2 separate regions of the Homo sapiens genome follow, and region 2 is linked to region 1. Evidence: promoter capture Hi-C in 16 types of primary human blood cells and fetal thymus (Javierre and others, 2016). All regions are on one chromosome and are shown on one strand. Each heading gives the region's core, a stretch centred on a gene start or on the middle of the fragment in contact. The rest is flanking DNA. Distances are from core to core; before and after follow the strand shown.

Region 1 (3,798 bases), core at 326-2,825:
CACAAAATTTCTAAGCTCCCCCCAACTGACTGATTGAACACCTCCACCAAGCGGATTCCAAAGAAACTTGAAAAACTAGTTCAGGCCATGCTGGGAAAGGGAAGTCAGACATGCCTCATTATACTTTCCTCTCTTTGGAGTTCAGGCACAACTGACCAGTATTATTATTAAAACAAGAGATCTTCATACCGACATAACAGACTCTTCTTAGCAATAAGATACCAAAATTCCAACATGACTCTAGTATAGCATCACATGAAAGATAGCAGGCCCTAAATCAAAGCATTTTACCCTAAAATAAATTTCTTTGACACTTTTTGAAATGGCCCTACACAGCCATCTCTTGTGGGGAAAATCTACATTCTATAGAGACTCCCTTTCCCTTTCCAGGTCTTTTCCTGATCCAAGAGATATTTAACTAAGAGTCTGGCATCTTTTTACACATGATAAGAGACATTTGCCAATTATTCTCTCTGAAGCCTGTTACGTATGAGACTTCGTCTACATAATAAGAACCTTGGTCTCCACCTTATCTTAACCCAGACACATTCCTTTCTATTGATTCCAGGTCTTTAGGTCACAACTTAACTCTTTCAACCAACTGCCAATCAGAAAATCTTTGAATCCACCTGTAACCTGGAATCCTTCCCCTTTTTGAGTTGTCCCATCTTTATGGACCAAACTAAGTACACCTTCCATATACCAGTTAATGTCCTTATGTCTCCCTAAAACCATATAATCCCAAGCTGTAGCCCAACCACCTTGGGTACATGTTGTCAGGACCCTGTGGGGTTGTGTCATGGGTCACGGTCCTCACCTTGTGCTCAGAATAAACCTCTTCAAACATTTTACGGAGTTTGGCTTTTTTCGTCAACATGAGCCTCTAACAGTTGGTTACTGGATCATCCTGAGGAATCAAGGCCATAGCACTTAAAGACCCATAAATAATCCTACATGATATTCACTGTGTATTCTATGTAGGTGTAATTTCCAAGCTAAAACATAATTAACCCCACTAATAGACACAACAAACATCCTCTGTATTATCAGCACGCACACAGGGCTTTCTCTGCTGCGAGTGGACTTGTGTCCTTACTTATAATTCTGGAATCTTCTCTAGGGGAGAGGCTGGTCTAATTTCTCTCTATTGACCCAGGGCAGGCAGGAAACAAGGCACACTGTGGAAAGAATGTTTGAATGTTCAGGCTTCTAAGTGACAGAAAAGCAGCTTGTCTGAAAAATGATTTTTTTCTGGCTTCTAACCAGTGTTAATTCACTTGGAAACCAAGGCAGTTTTCTCCCCTTTACTGAACTCTGGATTTCTTTTCCAATCAAGGCCCCTGACACCAAAGAAGGAAATGGAGCGTAAATCAGGCTACAGAGTGGCTGCCATTCATTCGGGAAGCCTTATTGTTTTCCGTCCTTTGTTCCCCTCTAGACCCTTGCCAATCCCCAGGCCGCGAGGCCCTCTGAAGCCCTGAGCCTGGAGCGGTAGGAGACGGGGGAACTGAAACGCCGCGGAACCAGAGGCTGAGGGAGCGGCGCGATGGAGGGAGGAGGAGCGACGGACCGGCAGGCCTAGCTCCGGGGCTGCGGCGGCTGAGGCGCGGGGATGGAGCCCCTGCGGGTGCTGGAGCTATACAGCGGCGTGGGCGGCATGCACCACGCGCTGAGAGGTGAGAGTCCATCTAGCACCCCTCTCTCTATTCGCTCACGGGGGCTGGTTGGAGCACCCGCGCCGGGAAGGGGCGGAGCGGCGAGACGCAAGGGGCGGACACTGTGGGGCGGACACTGTGGGGCGGCCCTCGGTTGTCCTGGAAACAGCTCCTGCGCGCCGCCGTGTCCACCCCTCCAGACGCTGACTCCCTTCTCCTGGCGCCGAGTCTGGCTCGAGGGGCCGCACATGGCGCCTCAAAGGGCCCAGTTGGGAGTCGGGATTCGCAAGGCAGTAAATCAACCTCAAAGGGTATCAAAGGGGCGAGACCCTCGCCTGGTGCCAAGCCCCCATTCTAAGTGTGCAGCCACCGAGAAGCATGGAGACTCGGTCCTTCATCCTGGGGGGCTTCCCAGCTGGGGAGGGAGGGAGTGTCAGGGGCTCCCCTGGTGAGAGATGGATCTTGGAAGGGATAATAGCTACAATTCAAGGTAGAAGTTTGCGAATGCTAAATAGGATGGTAGAGGAAGCTTGAAGAACTTGGACGTCTGATCGTTGGAAAGAAACGTGTCTTCTGTAGTTCTGCGTTTAGATGCCAGAGAACTGAGTTCCAGCTTGGTGGCAGTGTGACGTTGGGCTACTTCGTGAACAGTGATGAACCTGTTTCCTGGTTTTAAAAGAGAATGATTATTATAAGGATTAAAGTCTGTCAAGTGCTTGTTAGTGCCTGATACATTGTAACCACTCCAAATATTATACATTATTATCACTATTACTTTAAAACGACATCACGAGATATTATCAAGCAAACTATTACTTTTATGCACGTCTTTGATTTTGAGGTTTTTGATTTCTTTCATGCTGAGTTGGAACTGAAAGTTTTACTTTTGGTGATATTCACTCAAAATTATTTATTGAGCTCCTATTCTGTGCCAGATTTTGTGCTAGGAGCTGGGGATACAGAATGACAAACAGGCTTTGAAGGTGCATGTTTATTCTTAAATTACTAAGACAACCACCGAACTGAAACTTCCCTGCTTCCTTATTTAGGACCAAGAGTAACAAGAGTAACTGTAAGATACAGACAATATTTAATGGGTTTAGCGTATAAGTTTTTTGAGCAGATTTATTGAGTTTCAATTCTAGACTAGGTTAATGATCATTAAGTTTTTAGTACTTGTTTGCCGGCTATCTTTATTTCTCATTTTAAAACTTAGCAGCATCAAAGCAAAACTCTAGTACTATTTACTCTTTGTTAATTCTCTAAAGTGATATAATGTCCGCGTTTTCCCATATCTTGAAACTCCTTAATGAATTGCTTAGTACTTTATCATAAGCTGTAATTCAGCCATTCCTTAAGTGTCGAATATTTAGATCATTCTTCAGTTTTTTTGCAAGTACAGTGTGCTACAGTTACATTCTTGAGCATAATGCCGATTTTCTCTTTAAGCATGTTTACTAACTGTTGGAATTAATTCAACAGTAAGACTTAACTGTGTGCTAGTTACTAAGTGAAAAACAGAATTTTTAAGGCTTTTGAGAGAGAGGATAGCAAATTGCTTTTCAGAGATTTTTGAGTGCCTTAACTACATATTCATCAGGGATATGTATTATCAATTTTTAATCCTTGCTAATTTGTTAGGGGAAATTGTGTAATTTTAAGTGACAGTTTTGGGATTAATGAAAGAGTAAAATATTTTCTCTCCTATTAGCCAATGCAATGTGAATTTGTACACGTTTTTCTATTGCCAGTTCTACTGTTGTGAATCCAAGCTATTAAGTTCTGTAATTTAAATTATTAACATAGCTTCCCAGCTTCTCTCCTTACTTCCATTCTGCCTCCCTACTCCGTTTTCCTTCTAGCAGGCAGCATGATCATTTGCACAGTAAACCAGATCATGTTACTTCGTTGCTTAAATGGTTGCTTTTGAGATTGTAATCACAGTCCCATCTTAACAGGCTTGTGAGTTCTGGCTTCTGTCTTCTCTTCAATTTTATCTGCCACTCTCCCTTCAGCATCCCGCTTCACCGTCAACACCCAAAGCTGAAATTCTAATTAAACGATTCCCTGAATTCTTTCCTCAGCCTTTCTTGTCGAGGCTTACTGTTTTTCTTTCTCTCTACTCCTCAAACCCTCGAAGTTC
Region 2 (3,798 bases), core at 448-2,947, 1.4 Mb after region 1:
CCATTTTCTATAAAATTCTAATGCTCAAATCTGTATTCTAACCACTGGCTTCTGCTGATGTAATGGACTTTGGTAACATATGTGCTGACGGTCTCTCATCTCATTATTCTTATCCCTTTGGGACGGGGTGATCATAGACGTTAGATTAATTCAGATGTGAGGGAAAAAAAATAGAGGTTTCAACAGGCCTTTACATTGTGCTCAGTTCTTCAGTAGAGGAAACCTCTTGGCTTAAATGCTGCAGTTGCTAAAGTTTTAAGAAAGTGATGATCAGTGTCACATTATGATCTTTCATAATGTTTAGTTCTGCATTTTTCAGTATTCTTTTTCTACTTGGTGGTGTTATTTGGATGGCTTTATTTAAAGTGGTGATATTTTAATCCACAAACACATTGTTTTTCTAAGACATAATTTAAAATCTATTTAGAGATTTTTCCCCCATTTTTAAAATGCTTGATTTTCATCATTAACCCATTCTTACTATTGTTATTCATGACAGAATTTTTTTTTTTCCAGAGGAAACCATTATAACTTATGCTTTGGTTATTTTTAGAGGAAGAGCAGAAGGAACTCCTTTGTCATACCTTGTGTGATATTTTAGAAAGTGCTTGTTGTGACCACTCTGGATCATACTGCTTGGTTTCATGGTTAAGAGGAAAGACAACTGAGGAAACTGCTAGTATTTCTGGGAGTCCTGCAGAGTCTAGTTGCCAAGTGGAACATTCTTGTAAGATATATTTTTATTTCCTGAAGTTTTTTTCTTGTTCCTTTGTTTTAATGAATCTATTGAATATTTTGAAGAAAAAATTACTTAAAATTTTCATAACATGTATTCTTTTCCAGCTTAAGCTTAATTACTGAGCCTCACTATTTTTTATTTCCATATCATTTATTTTAACTACTTAGAAGATACTACATTTTTGCAAAAAAAAATGCATCTCTTAAACTTTTAAAAATGTTCTGGTTAACTTCTGCTTGATAATAATCTCTTTTGAGCTTTAGAACTCTTATTTAGAAATAATGATATGCTTCAGTTTCAGATGCCTTAATGTTTTGCTTTGGTATTGCAAAAACGGATTTTTTTGGACATCAGAAGATTTCATAAAGTTATCTTTACTTGCTTCCCAGAGCAAAGATGGGGACATTTCTCCTCATTGCAAGCTGTTTCTTTTCTTTCCGAATTATTTGGATATTTTTATACATATAGATTATTTTAAGGCAATTTTAATTATGCCTTAAGTTTTTCATACCTTGAAGATAAGTTAAATAATAGCTGTTTACGTTAAATAATAGCTATTCTCATTATTCATAAAAATTATATATTCTGTGGTTTTTAACTTTTGAAAATTGTTATGTAATTGACCCGAAAGCTGCCAGTGTGAAATGGAGACAGCTAGTGGTACGGAAGCTAGTTAAGAGTTGCTTTTCTGATTTGCTTTTCAGGAATAATCTTGCTAGTTGATGGTTTTTTATAATTGGTAGTCCCAAGTGCTTATGTTAAATAAGTGACTTATTCTACCCACAGAGCATCACATTAACTATCATCTTTGTGGAAAGTTTTCGTAAAGAGATTACGTACCTGAAAGTACACTTCAATTGTATGGGATACACATTTTGCTTTCCATATAGTATTATCTATAAGGTGCTGTTGCCTCCCTGGACTAAAATGCCTCTGTGTTGTCAGTGTCTTTTTTCTCCTACCTCTGCAGTTAAAATGCCTTAAGCCTGGCAAATTCTAATAGTAGTAACATTTGCAAGGAATAATTTTGAACATTTGAACAGCTATATGATGCTTCCTTTTGAAGCCTTTGAAATATGGCCTTTCAAAAAGAACTTAACATATTTTAGAGTTTATAATGACATTTGAAGACAACAAGTGGAAAACAGTCACAAGGATGCTAGTCCAAAGTGTCACTAAGATTGGTTTTAACATATTCTCCAGGTTTTACTGTGTGGGTGTTAGCACACTTAATAGGTTCATTTAGGATATTAAAATTTTGAAAGAGGAATTGTTGATCTTTTGAAAAGGTATTTTAAAGATTTTGTGCTTAAAGCCAGTCTGTATATTGATGTGAGAAAATAGTAAGATCTTTTTATATAACATTTTCCATTAGTATCTTAACAGTATACTGAGTGCATACTATGAAATATGCTATGCAGTTCTGTGGTGATACGTCACGTTGCTATAGGTTAAAGGGCCTTATAATGCATTCCCTTTGGTACTTCAGTAACTAATTTAGATGGGCATATTATATTGAATTACCCTCCAGAAAACATTTTAGTAATTTTTCCAGTTTACTTTGTATCTCATTTTAAAAGTTGCCATGAAGTAAACCATATTTTAAATTTTTTAAATAATGTATACATTTGAAATACTTTGTTAACTGAAAATTTGAGAATTTACCTTAGTGACAAATGAACTGTATTTATATTACAATTTTTATTCCGTGTAACAATCTATTTTACCTGTTCTTTCCTTTATTCCCAGCTTTGTTCTTTTTCTTGTGTTTTATATTTTTTCACCATCCCTGCCTGCTAAGCTTTTTATTTTGCTTGCCTCTTTTCTCTAAATTATTATCTTTATGTCTACTCTTGTAGTATACCCAGTAAAACTATTTAGATAATCTAATGTTGCAGAACAAGCAGTATAATTTGGAAAAGATTAGGTAGAATTTTCATTTTCTGAAAGTTTTAATGTAAAGTGTTTTCCCCTCTTGTTAATATTACTTTCTCTACAAACATTAATTTCATTGGCTTATGTGGTGTGTATAGTTTTGGCTTGTTGGTAATGCACAGTTGTTCGCAGTAGTGAATACTCAGGTTCAATTTCAGTTTGTTTCCCACATAAACCAAGAAATAACTTAATACATTTGGACTGCTAAAGATTTTAAAACGAAATATGAAACACTCACAACTAGGCTTTGGAAAGCTAGCATAATGTGACATTTTAAATTGTAAATAAAAATCTAAAATTTTGACTTCATAATGAATCAATTTTCTTAACTCACCAGTGAGAATTTATATTTGATAGTAGTAAGATTTGCTTTATGAAATATATGTGAAGTTATTCATTGTGATAAATAACTCCCTGGAGCCAAGACTATCTGTGCTCAAGTCTCATCTCTGCTGTTTAATCCTATGTACTCTTGAGAGGATTTTTCTGTGTGCCTCAGGTTCCTCTTCTGTAAAATGGAGCTAAGAGGGTTTATATGAGGATTAAATGAGGTAAGACATGTAGGGCATTTAGAAAAGGGCCTGGCACTTAGTAAAGTGCTCAATAAACATTACCTCTGATTAAAATGCTTTCTTCTATTTCCTTTGATTAATAAACATAATCTAAATAAGTTACTGAAAACTTTTTAACAGTTATACAAATAAATGAGGAAACAAACTTAAAGCTGTCATTGAACCTGTGTAGTTTGAAAGTGTTATGCCTTTTTATACATGTTTGTTTAATAATTAAGCCTTAAACCTAAAGATTTTATATTATAAAAAGGAAGGTTAGCTCTGATGATATTACTTGGATTTATATAATCTGAAAGATTATTTAAAAGTGCAGGACACATTATGATATGTGAGGCACTGATTATCAGTAATTTTTCATACTTTATAACTGCCGTAGCATAGCTGAACTGAAATGTTATTTAATCACCCTTCTATATTCTCAGTATTATATCGATTTTAGTTATATTCATAATAAAGATGTTGAAATATAAATTCATGTTATAATGAAGTTGAAAATAAACTGAGAATTTTAAGGGAGTAAGGAAATAGGGAAAGTTTTGATTGCTTGAAAGT

What was found. Contacts are between HindIII fragments. The CHiCAGO score rates a contact against its expected background, and 5 or more counts as called.
Region 2: a contact is called between a fragment that was not itself captured here and the fragment with the promoter of TRDMT1 in region 1, in 2 of 17 cell types (total B cells and naive CD8 T cells). The highest score is 5.3, in total B cells.

What each region holds. Positions count from the first base shown.
Region 1 is chr10:17,199,449-17,203,246 of GRCh38, reverse strand. It overlaps TRDMT1 (tRNA aspartic acid methyltransferase 1), which reads left to right and starts at 1,575. Exons shown (of 11, transcript NM_004412.7): 1 at 1,575-1,676. The coding sequence starts at 1,613. RefSeq lists a silencer at 1,878-1,937. The HindIII fragment of the contact is 5,194 bases long and covers 1-2,186 here.
Region 2 is chr10:15,838,355-15,842,152 of GRCh38, reverse strand. It overlaps MINDY3 (MINDY lysine 48 deubiquitinase 3), which reads left to right. Exons shown (of 15, transcript NM_024948.4): 4 at 554-727. The region is part of intron 2 of LOC124902383 (a long non-coding RNA gene); the gene reads right to left. Among named protein-coding and RNA genes, the nearest start is that of MINDY3, 20 kb to the left of the region's middle. The HindIII fragment of the contact is 1,691 bases long and covers 852-2,542 here.